2 separate regions of the Homo sapiens genome follow, and region 1 is linked to region 2. The links are contacts of gene promoters, found by promoter capture Hi-C in blood cells and fetal thymus (Javierre and others, 2016). All regions are on one chromosome and are shown on one strand. The core of a region is centred on a gene start or on the middle of the fragment in contact, and the rest is flanking DNA. Distances in the headings are between cores, read along the strand shown. Region 1 overlaps PICALM (phosphatidylinositol binding clathrin assembly protein). Region 2 holds the start of SYTL2 (synaptotagmin like 2).

Evidence for each region. Contacts are between HindIII fragments. The CHiCAGO score rates a contact against its expected background, and 5 or more counts as called.
Region 1: a contact is called between a fragment that was not itself captured here and the fragment with the promoter of SYTL2 in region 2, in 1 of 17 cell types (naive CD4 T cells). The highest score is 5.3, in naive CD4 T cells.

The regions. Positions count from the first base shown.
Region 1 is chr11:85,957,911-85,962,679 of GRCh38, reverse strand. PICALM (phosphatidylinositol binding clathrin assembly protein) reads left to right here. Exons shown (of 20, transcript NM_007166.4): 20 at 3,620-4,769. The coding sequence ends at 3,634. Among named protein-coding and RNA genes, the nearest start is that of CCDC83, 100 kb to the right of the region's middle. The HindIII fragment of the contact is 4,365 bases long and covers 1,027-4,769 here.
Region 2 is chr11:85,807,863-85,812,585 of GRCh38, reverse strand. SYTL2 (synaptotagmin like 2) reads left to right here and starts at 1,445. Exons shown (of 20, transcript NM_206927.4): 1 at 1,445-1,632. RefSeq lists a silencer at 1,307-1,486. The HindIII fragment of the contact is 7,624 bases long and covers 1-4,723 here.

The sequences.
Region 1 (4,769 bases), core at 1,960-4,459, 150 kb before region 2:
TATGTGTTTTACCAATTTAAGAGACTACTAGGAGTTCTAATAAAAAACCAGCTCTTTTTCTCAAGGAAAAGTAATCCTTTTCAACATTGTTTATAAGCCTCTAGGACTTGTCTAGCAGTATGCTCACATATTGAAAATAGATTTGTCTCTTCCGTATTCTTCAGGGGCATTTTACTGTGGGTCTGTCAGGTCTTCAGACTGCTACCCTGGTGAAAACGTGATTTAAGAAGGTATTTCGGTGTGGGGCTATCATAGGAAACTTCTGATTTTAGATGCAGTCTATCTGCAATAAGTAGGATTTGTTGTTGCTGTTGTTTTAACTGTAGGTGAAAAAGAAAATCTGCTTCAGAGAGAAACCAAGTTCATCTTGGAGATAAGTGTGGATGTTGGACTCCCTCCAGCTCAGTAACTGAGGATCACTTTACTTGAAATCGTTGTGCTTTTGATTGGCCGTCCGTGGTTGCGCTGAAGAGGGAGGAGGGGGAGTCTTTCCAGTAGTTATACCTTAATTTGTCTCTGCATGGATGATATTTGAAACCTCAAGCCCAGGCATGCTGCTCTGTCCTCCCATCTGTAGCTGCCTGCGTGATTCCATCATTGTTCCATTTGTCTCTTCCCATTGTCTTTGAACATTTGTTTTTGGGAACAAGATATGCATTAGGAAATTACTCAACCATGAGTATAACTGATGCCTATAAATTGATCTTGGCATCCAGAACAAGTTGCATATACTAGTGATGTAATATTTGCCGAAGCTCATTGGCTGTTCATTCTCTGTAGTGCTTTTCCGAAAATAAATAAATAAATAAATAAATAAATAAATAGGTAGAAAGAAATGAAATCACTTGGCACCAGCAAAGAAATCCTCTATAGGATTTGAATGTTGAAGTATGAATTGAAACTATTTCCAGTTAGTCAACTTTTATTACTCACTAGGACATCCCTAAAAGAAAAGCTCATTTTGTAATAGTCCTGTGCTTATATGCTTTGCAATCTTATACAGAGGGAGAAAAAGAATTAAAAGCTTGTTCCAAAGTAAAAAGGTTCATGTCGGGTTTGAAACGCTCATGTCAGCTTAATGAAGGATACATGTATGAAAATTAATATCTTGGTTCTTCAGGAATAGTCTGTGTTTGGGAGAATAAAGATACATACTGAATTCAGTTGTTTACTTGCCTTACAGTATATTCGAATTAAACAATAGGACAGATTCTAAGAATCAAGTAAATTTGTCCAAACAGGAAGCAGAATCAAAGATCTTAAGTATTCCCCATATTCAGGGCAGTATGTGGACAGTTACAGTAGGTGACCTCTAAGGTCCCTTTCACCTCCCACAGTACGTGTGTCAGCTGCAGTTCGTCAAGATAAATGAGCAGGAGACAACTTCGTGTAAAAAGTGTGTGAACCTAGGACAGGACTTTTCGACCCTTATGAAGAAAGAAAGGAAAGAATATTGCAGCTAGATGTGTTGGGTCCGGACTGAGGTCAGAGTTGCACAGCTTTGGACAGATAGCCTGGACACAGGAAACCATGTTCTCTCAATTTTAAACAAAAATGCAATTATGTATTCCCTCCCCTATCCCCCCACCACCCCCCATACACACATTAAAATTCTTAACCATGGGTCAGCTTATATCGACCTTTTGGGTAAAAGACATTATTCCTTTGAAACTTCAGAAGCACGAGTTTGTTTTCTGAAAAACACATGCCATTGCATACCTTTTAACTTGACATATGACTGAAACTTTTGTCTTAACAATCCATTTTCTACAAAGACTGCCCTTATATTTATTAAAGATGACAAAACCAAAACCACTTCTTCTTTCATACATTTTCTGCTTTCATGTTCTGTCATTCTGAGATCTTTTTTTCTTTCCCTCTCTCTGTCTTCTTTTCCCCCAGCTGTCGGCAGCATCCAGCCCCTCCAGTCACAGTCCTCACAGAGCTTCAGGAAAGGACCCCTTTGCAGAGCTCTCTTTGGAGGATTTCTTATAAATCACTTTAGGTATTGCTACTTGTTTTGGGAGATGGGGACTTAAATACTTAAAAACAATTACCAAACATTAAACACAATTCACGCTTCTCTTTCATTTCTTTAAAGGACTCTAGGCTCCCTCTCCTCCTCCTCCTCTTCCTCTATTCTTTAGGTGCAGAATGAAAAGATAGGACATAAGGAAAAACAACTTTTGGAAAATATCTGTAACATAATTATTTAAAGTAATCTCATCCACTGCTCACAGTAAATGGATGAGATCGGATAAAGTTTGCTTTTTAATTAAGGGCAAGTGAATACTTAAGCCCTTTCGATTAGAAGGATTCTGCATATGATCCACACTGCCTCTGTTTGCTGGAAGACAGTGTAATTTGTTCTTCTTGATGCTCTAGCCCCCAGTTTAGATATACCTTCTAGATCTTTGGGAGTTTATAGTCTTCTGATTTGGCAAGTTTATTAGCACATCTACTTCAGTAATCTTTGGATGGGCAGTTTAAGGGAAATTGTGAGTGAAATATCTTTGAATGAACAGTAGTACCCTATTGAAAAATATTTTTATGGCTCTTTCAGGTTCTTATTTATGTTAATAAAAAGACTTAGTATAATATTACTGTTCCCTTTATTGTCTCTAATTGTATATCATTTGGAAATAATATTTCAAATTTTGCTTCCCAAATGAGATTTTGCTTGTGGTATTTGTGCTTATGGAGAGATTTTTCTGAACTTGTCATGAAAAAATAGGTCATTGATCTTCTTTCTTTTCCTCCTCCACATGCTATTCCTCTATTTTTAGCAGTTAAGTATTTGGCCTGGATGTGGTTGCTTATGCCTGTAATCCCAGCACCCTGGGAGGCTGATGCGGGAGGATCACTTGGGGCTAGTAGTTCAAGATCAGCCTGGGCAATACGGTGAGACCCTAGTCTCTACCCCCACCCAAAAATTACCCAGGTGTGGTGGCGACTGTCTGCAGTCCTAGCTATTCAGGAGGCTGAGGCAGGAGGGTTGCTTGAGCCCAGGAGTTCCAATGAGCTTTTTTTTTTTTTTTTTTTTTTTGAGATGGAGTTTCGCTCTTGTCTCCCAGGCTGGAGTGCAGTGGCACGATCTCAGCTCACTGCAACCTCCACCTCCTGGGTTCAAGCCATTCTCCTGCCTCAGCCTCCCGAGTAGCTAGGATTACAGGCGCCCGCCACCACGCCTGGCTAATTTTTGTATTTTTAGTAGAGACGGGGTTTCACCATATTGGCCAGGCCAGTCTCGAACTCTCGAACTCACCTCAGGTGATCTGCCCACCTCAGCCTCCCAGAGTGCTGGGATTACAGGTGTGAGCTATGGTGCCCAGCCATTGAGCTTTGATCATGCCACTGCAATCCAGCCTAGACAGCAGAGCAAGACTCTGTCTCAAAAACAACAACAAAAAACATTATTTGGAAGTCCCTATATGTGTCAAATATTGAGCTTTCTGGCACATAAGTTGATAATACTGACTTTGTTTTATAAACAGGGTTTGTGATAAGCATGTTGTGAACACTTCTGGGCCAGTTAAATGGTAAAGACCACAAAGCATTTTTATTTATGAGAAGACATCCTACAATACAATGAATTAACATACCCACTTTTTTTTTCCAGATACAGTTTATGTAACTTGATGGAAGAAAATGGAATTACTCCAAAAAGACAAGTGCTCAAGCAGCAAAATCCTTACTTCCAGCAAAATCCAAACTGCTGTCTCTTAAATCTCTTAAACTCTCTTCTTCCATTAGAATGCTACAAGTAACTCAGTGAAGGCCCATGAAGGAAATTGGGACTAGTTTATAGGAGAACGTATCAATACAGTTTATAAAGCCAAGAATTGCTATGATTTAAGACTAAGATCTGTCTTTTTGGTGACTAACCCTTCAATTCTTTCAACTCCTGTTAATACCCATAATCAGTAACCTATCAAGAAAAGCCCTTATTTGGAAAGTGTGAAATTTGTATTTGGAAAAGCTGCCTGGAGAGAAGAACTGTGTCCTTTACTGTATTTCAACAGGACTCTTTTGGGGGATCAAAATTAAAATTCCTAATTATGCATTATCTTTCTTTTCTCCAGTCCTCACAAATACAGAAACAATAACTGAAATTAACTTTTCTTTTTTTAAAAAAAATTATATTCAGTTTGCAGTAGACATTCCTTAAGTATTTGTATTTATTTATGATTATCAATTTTACATAACATTAATATTGTATCAGACCTCCTTATGAAAATGAGTATGGATGTGCACAGTATGTTTGATTTTTATCCACAAGAATGAATCTGATTCAGAATGCTTTTCTCAGCTGACATACAGAGCACTAAATATTTTAAGGCAAGTCCATAGGTCTGAATCTCTTAAGAATTCTCGGCCTCTGTGGGATTTAGGGAAGCATTATAAATGCATTAATCCTTATAGTCAATTCTGTGCCTAGGATTTTGCCAGGGAACAGTTCACTGACTAGGAAAAGCACTACATTTTAAATTCAGCATTAGTGCATTGGGAAGGATCTTTACTGCTTTGTGCTTGGCATGTCATTATTTTCCATTTGACATTAGGGCCTTTCCAAAATGAATGTGAGGAATTGCTTTCACTTCAAGACTTTCCTTCTTTTCACTAAAACTCTAGAAGGTGTTACAAGGGGGAGGGAAGGGGGGCAAAGTCCTTGAACATTTTCTTTGGCTCGTGCCATGTTATGATCATATACCTTTTAAATAAGGGGAAATAGTATCTTTAAAGTTAATGTCTAGCCAAGAGTTTAGTAA
Region 2 (4,723 bases), core at 196-2,695:
CCTCCTTCAGCGTAGTGACTCTACAACACTTTGTCAACCTATTATAACACTTACCCTAAAATGAAATTATTTACAAATTTGTTTCTTCAAAGGCAAGACCAGTGGCTTATTCCTCTTTTGCATGTGGCATGCTCACCCAGCACAGGGACACACCAGGCTCTCAAAGGCTGAAGGAAGCCAGAATACACATCTCTGCACAGTGCCAGGACTCTTGGGCCAGGCTAGCAGCCTGCACTGGGCACTAACTGAAGCCCTTGGGGATAAGTATTTGTAAGTTTGGGAGAAGGAAGACCTTTGGAAGAACCAAAGGCAGACCTGGGCCACCCTCAGTTAAATGGACAACACTAGTCCAGGAAATGATAAGGAAAAAGGCTTTAAGGTTCATCTCCTTCAGAGGTTTGCCTGGGCTGGCCCCATCATGGGTAACTTGTAAAAAATAGGTCGTGATACAATTTTTAAATTATTTTATTTATTTTTTTGAGACAGAGTCTTGCTCTGTCACCCAGGATGGGGTGCAGTGGTGCGATCTTGGCTCACGGCAGCCTCCACCTCTCGGGTTAAAGCGATTCTCCTGCCTCAGCTTCCTAAGTAGTTGGGACTACGGGCGCTCGCCACCACACCCAGCTAATTTTTCTTTTTTCTTTTCTAATTAGAACAGAGTTTTGCTATGTTGGCCGGGCTGGTCCCGAACTCCTGACCTCGGGTTATCCACCTGCCTCGGCCTCCCATAATGCTGGGATTACAGGTGTGAGCCACCGCGCCCGACCACAATATTGTATTTACTGTATTGCATTGTCTGCCTCCCTGCCACACAGCGTCTTCCAGGAGCTTACCAGTCCTCTGTGCATACCCCAGTAAGTAGCTCAGGCAGTGCATGACGCCCTCACCTTTCTCTAGGTATTATTGTATTTTAAAGCATCACTTCATTTAGTCCTCTCAACAACTTTTTTCCCCCCTTCTTCTATTTCACATGTGAGGAAATTGACGTCCCGAGGGTTAAAGCAAGTTACCCCATGACCGGGCTCCATACCCTCCGCGCCCCTTTCCCTGCGCGGTGGCTGTCCCTTCTCGGAGTGCAGAGGCTCCTAGTGCTCCACACTCTCGGGCTCCAAGGCCCCCTAACGCGCCGTGATAAAAATAATAATAACAATAACAACAGTGCTGCTTTATTTGCACAGAAAACAGGTTGTTTCGGGGCAAGGTACACTTGAGAAGGAGGCTAGGAACCGGAGAGAAGCAGCAGGCGGGGGCGGAGGGCGAAGGGAGGGAAGGGGAGAGGGCAGGGGCTGGCAGGCGCTGTGTGCCGGGCGAGGAGGCCGGGGCGGGCCGGGGCGGGGAGCGGGCGAAGCGCCATTGGCCCGAGCACCCGGGACCGGCCCCACCGCACCGCCCGCCGGGGGCGGGGGTAGCGGGGAGGGACTCGCGCACGCCGCTCTGCGTTGACAGTGCCGGGCGACACCCGGGCCGTGCCGCCAGCGTCCGTCGGGAGAGTGAAGGCTCGCAACGCCTTGCCCGGGGGAAGGTAACGCGCCGCGCCCGGGGCTGCGCGGTTTGCACCGCCAGGCCGAGGGCTGGGGGCCAGAAGACAAGAGAGACGGCGAGGCGCGCTCCCTGCCCGGCAGCGACTCGGAGGTGCGCACTCGGGTTCCAGTCTCTACTTGGCCCACTCGCTGTGTTACCTCGGGCAACTTTGTTTCCCTCTCTTGGTCTCTGCTTCCTCCTCTGTTAAGTGAGGGAGGTGGTGTAGAATGTTGTTCCTTAGTCTAACCAGTTCTAAAATGGGAACTGCGTTTTGGCACGGGGAAAGCTCCTTTCCTCAGTTTCCCACCTACTCCAGAGCCACCTCCGCTGCCCAGGCGGCCAGGAAGCTGGGATGCCCGGGTAGGCGAGGGTTCTGCTGAGCTATCGCGTTTTCTAGGGCTTTCAGGGACTGACCTGGGCTTGGGGCTGGGTGCTGGGGAGACCTGGCTGCAGAGTAACTGCCCCCAGATTGCTCAGGTGCAGAAAGGTAGGAGCGTCAGCACCTGTTTACAGGTGGGGTGTTGGGAAGGGCCGGCCAGGGGATGATGATTTCTCCTTTGAAAATAAGACGTGTTTTGGAATTCTCTTCCATACCCACACCTCGTCCCACGGCGAGCTATAAACTACACGAGTGGGCTTTATCATCCTTTGAAGTGGAAAAGCGACTGTTTTTAGCGTCTAAGACACAGGGCTCCACCAGCATATAGGAAGTGGGTCTCTCTTTCTCTGCACCCATCCTGCCGCGTCTTCCCTTTCTTTCCTCCTCTCTTTATAAATCCCCTTTGACCTTGAGGGGCTCCACTTCCTGCCTTAATGAAAAGTTCTTCTTTTCATTTAGTGCTGGTTTGTGACCAGCAGCCTCCAGGGCTTTGGGCGCAGGGTTGAGATAGAAGCCTAGATAAGAACAGGCTATGAATCACCCTGTCAGCCCCCTGAGCCACACAGCCCGGCAGGGATGTGCAGAGGAAGCCCGGTGGGGCTTCAGACAGATAGACCCTGGAAGGTGGGGTGGATGCAAACTGCCATCCAGCTTCCCGTCCCCTTGTTGGCAGCCATTCCCCACCAGGATGGTGACCCCTGCTGTCTGCTGGATGGAGCAGCCAGATAGAGTAGGATGATTGAAAGGAGCTGAGGACTTGGCTGGATTTCTATGGAAGGTCTCCAGCATTTCCCTTCCCTCACTTTCCTCCACCCCTGAAGTTCTGCCCCTTCTCACCCTTAGTGTGGTATCCAGGTGAAATCAGATTGCAGAACCCATCAAGAGCAGCTAGGAAGGAGAAGAGGTGTGGGGACGGCAGCAGGGCAATGTTGACTGCTGTTTAGTGGGCACTTACTATGGGCCAGACACTTCTTTGTATGTAATATATCCTTAATTCTCACAAAGCCACATGAGGGGTGATGTACTATACCCTATTTTATAGGTGAGAAACAGGCTCAGAAAGATTGCTTCCTTTAGTCACTTAGCTAGGAAGTAGCATAGCTGGAATTCAAATCCAATCTCTGATTCTAAAACCTGTGTTCTTTACACTGTCTTTGTGCTCCTTAAGTAAGAGCAAGCTGGAATAAGGAGAGCAAAAATGTCTAACATTGTGTTCTCACCAGGTGTCAGGCACTATGCAAAACATCTTAGAGCTATTATGTCATTTATGGTGCAGGAGTTTCCGTTATTCTGGAGGTAATCTGTGACTGCCTTAGCCTCTCAGCAGCAGTACTGTTCTAGAAGGCCTACCCTAATCCTGCCCAGCTGCTAGTGCGTGGGTGGGGCAGGGCCCTGTTTGCTTTATCCTAGAGGTGGTTTGGGGTCTAATGAAAGATTGATTGTCCACATCTGACCCGTTAGCCCTAACCGTTGGCTGGTGAATGATTCCACTGTCCCCTAAGAGGCCTTTTTCAGGTTTTGCTCAATAAACATTTGTGGAATGAATGAATTAGCACCTTGTGCAGAGTGGTCTGCTGCCTTGTAGAAATGTGAGGCAGCCTAGGGGAAGCCCAGGTTCCACCATCTTCAAAACCCAGATGCTAGTCTAGGTGTTTCTCCTCTTTGGGCAAGGGAGGTAGGGTGAACTGTGCCTGTATAGGCTTCCAGAGCTCCCTGGAAATATGTTTGCTTGTCACCTGTTTTACAAAGAATTTTTAAACATACAGTAGATGAAGAAAAATGTGGCTTTTTTTTTTTTTAAATTAAGAGGAAAACTTACTTGGTATTAATGAGGTTGTCACTCTCTCAAAAGTTGGGGGGATAAGATTATAATGTTTGTCTTAGGGCTTACCAAACTTTTCCATAGAAGATCCTGCAATGGAAAAGAAGACCAACACATGCTCCTGTGCTTATGCAATTTTTTTCATTTGATTTCATAATATATGGACTTTGATTTAAAAATATAAAGTTTTTTCTTCAAAATATCTGAATAAAACTGGTGTCCTGGCAGATTGTTATATATTCTTAGGGGCTTCGAGTACCCAGATGGAGAAGTAGGACCAAGGTTCTAGAGGGCTTAGACTACTGTTTGAATTTTCCACTCTCTGGTTCACAGTAATAGAGCTTCTCTAGTCCCTGGGGAGACATCCACTTTTTTCCCATTTTTCAGAATGAAGAATGTTTTAAAAATAAAAATATCCTTTATTTTCTTATTACCAAAACTAAACATATTCATTGTAGAAAAAAATATAAGATCCAGATTAACATTAATAATAATATCAGGCCGGGTGCAGTGGCTAATGCCTGGAATCCCAGCACTTTGGGAGGCCGAGGCAGGTGGATCACAAGGTCAGGAGTTCGAGACCAGCCTGGCCAATATAGTGAAACCCCATCTCTACTAAAAATACAAAACTTAGCTGCGCGTGGTGGCATGCGCCTGTAGTCCCAGCTGCTCAGGAGGCTAAGGCAGGAGAATCTCTTGAACCCGGGAGGCGGAGGTTGCAGTGAGCTGAGATCATGCCACTGTACTCCAGCCTGGGTGACAGAGCAAGACTCCATCTCAAATAATAATAATAATAATAATGATATAAATACATCTATACTCAAATAATTAAAGCAAAACTTGGGATATAGCGTTCCAAATCTTTTTCTTTGCATCTATATTAACAAATTTTAAAAACACACACACAAATACAGCCCTTTTGACTGAATTATTGTCAGAGCTAAGAGCCATCTCAGATTGTTTTTGACAGAATGTAGAGAAAAAATCATGAATAATTAAAA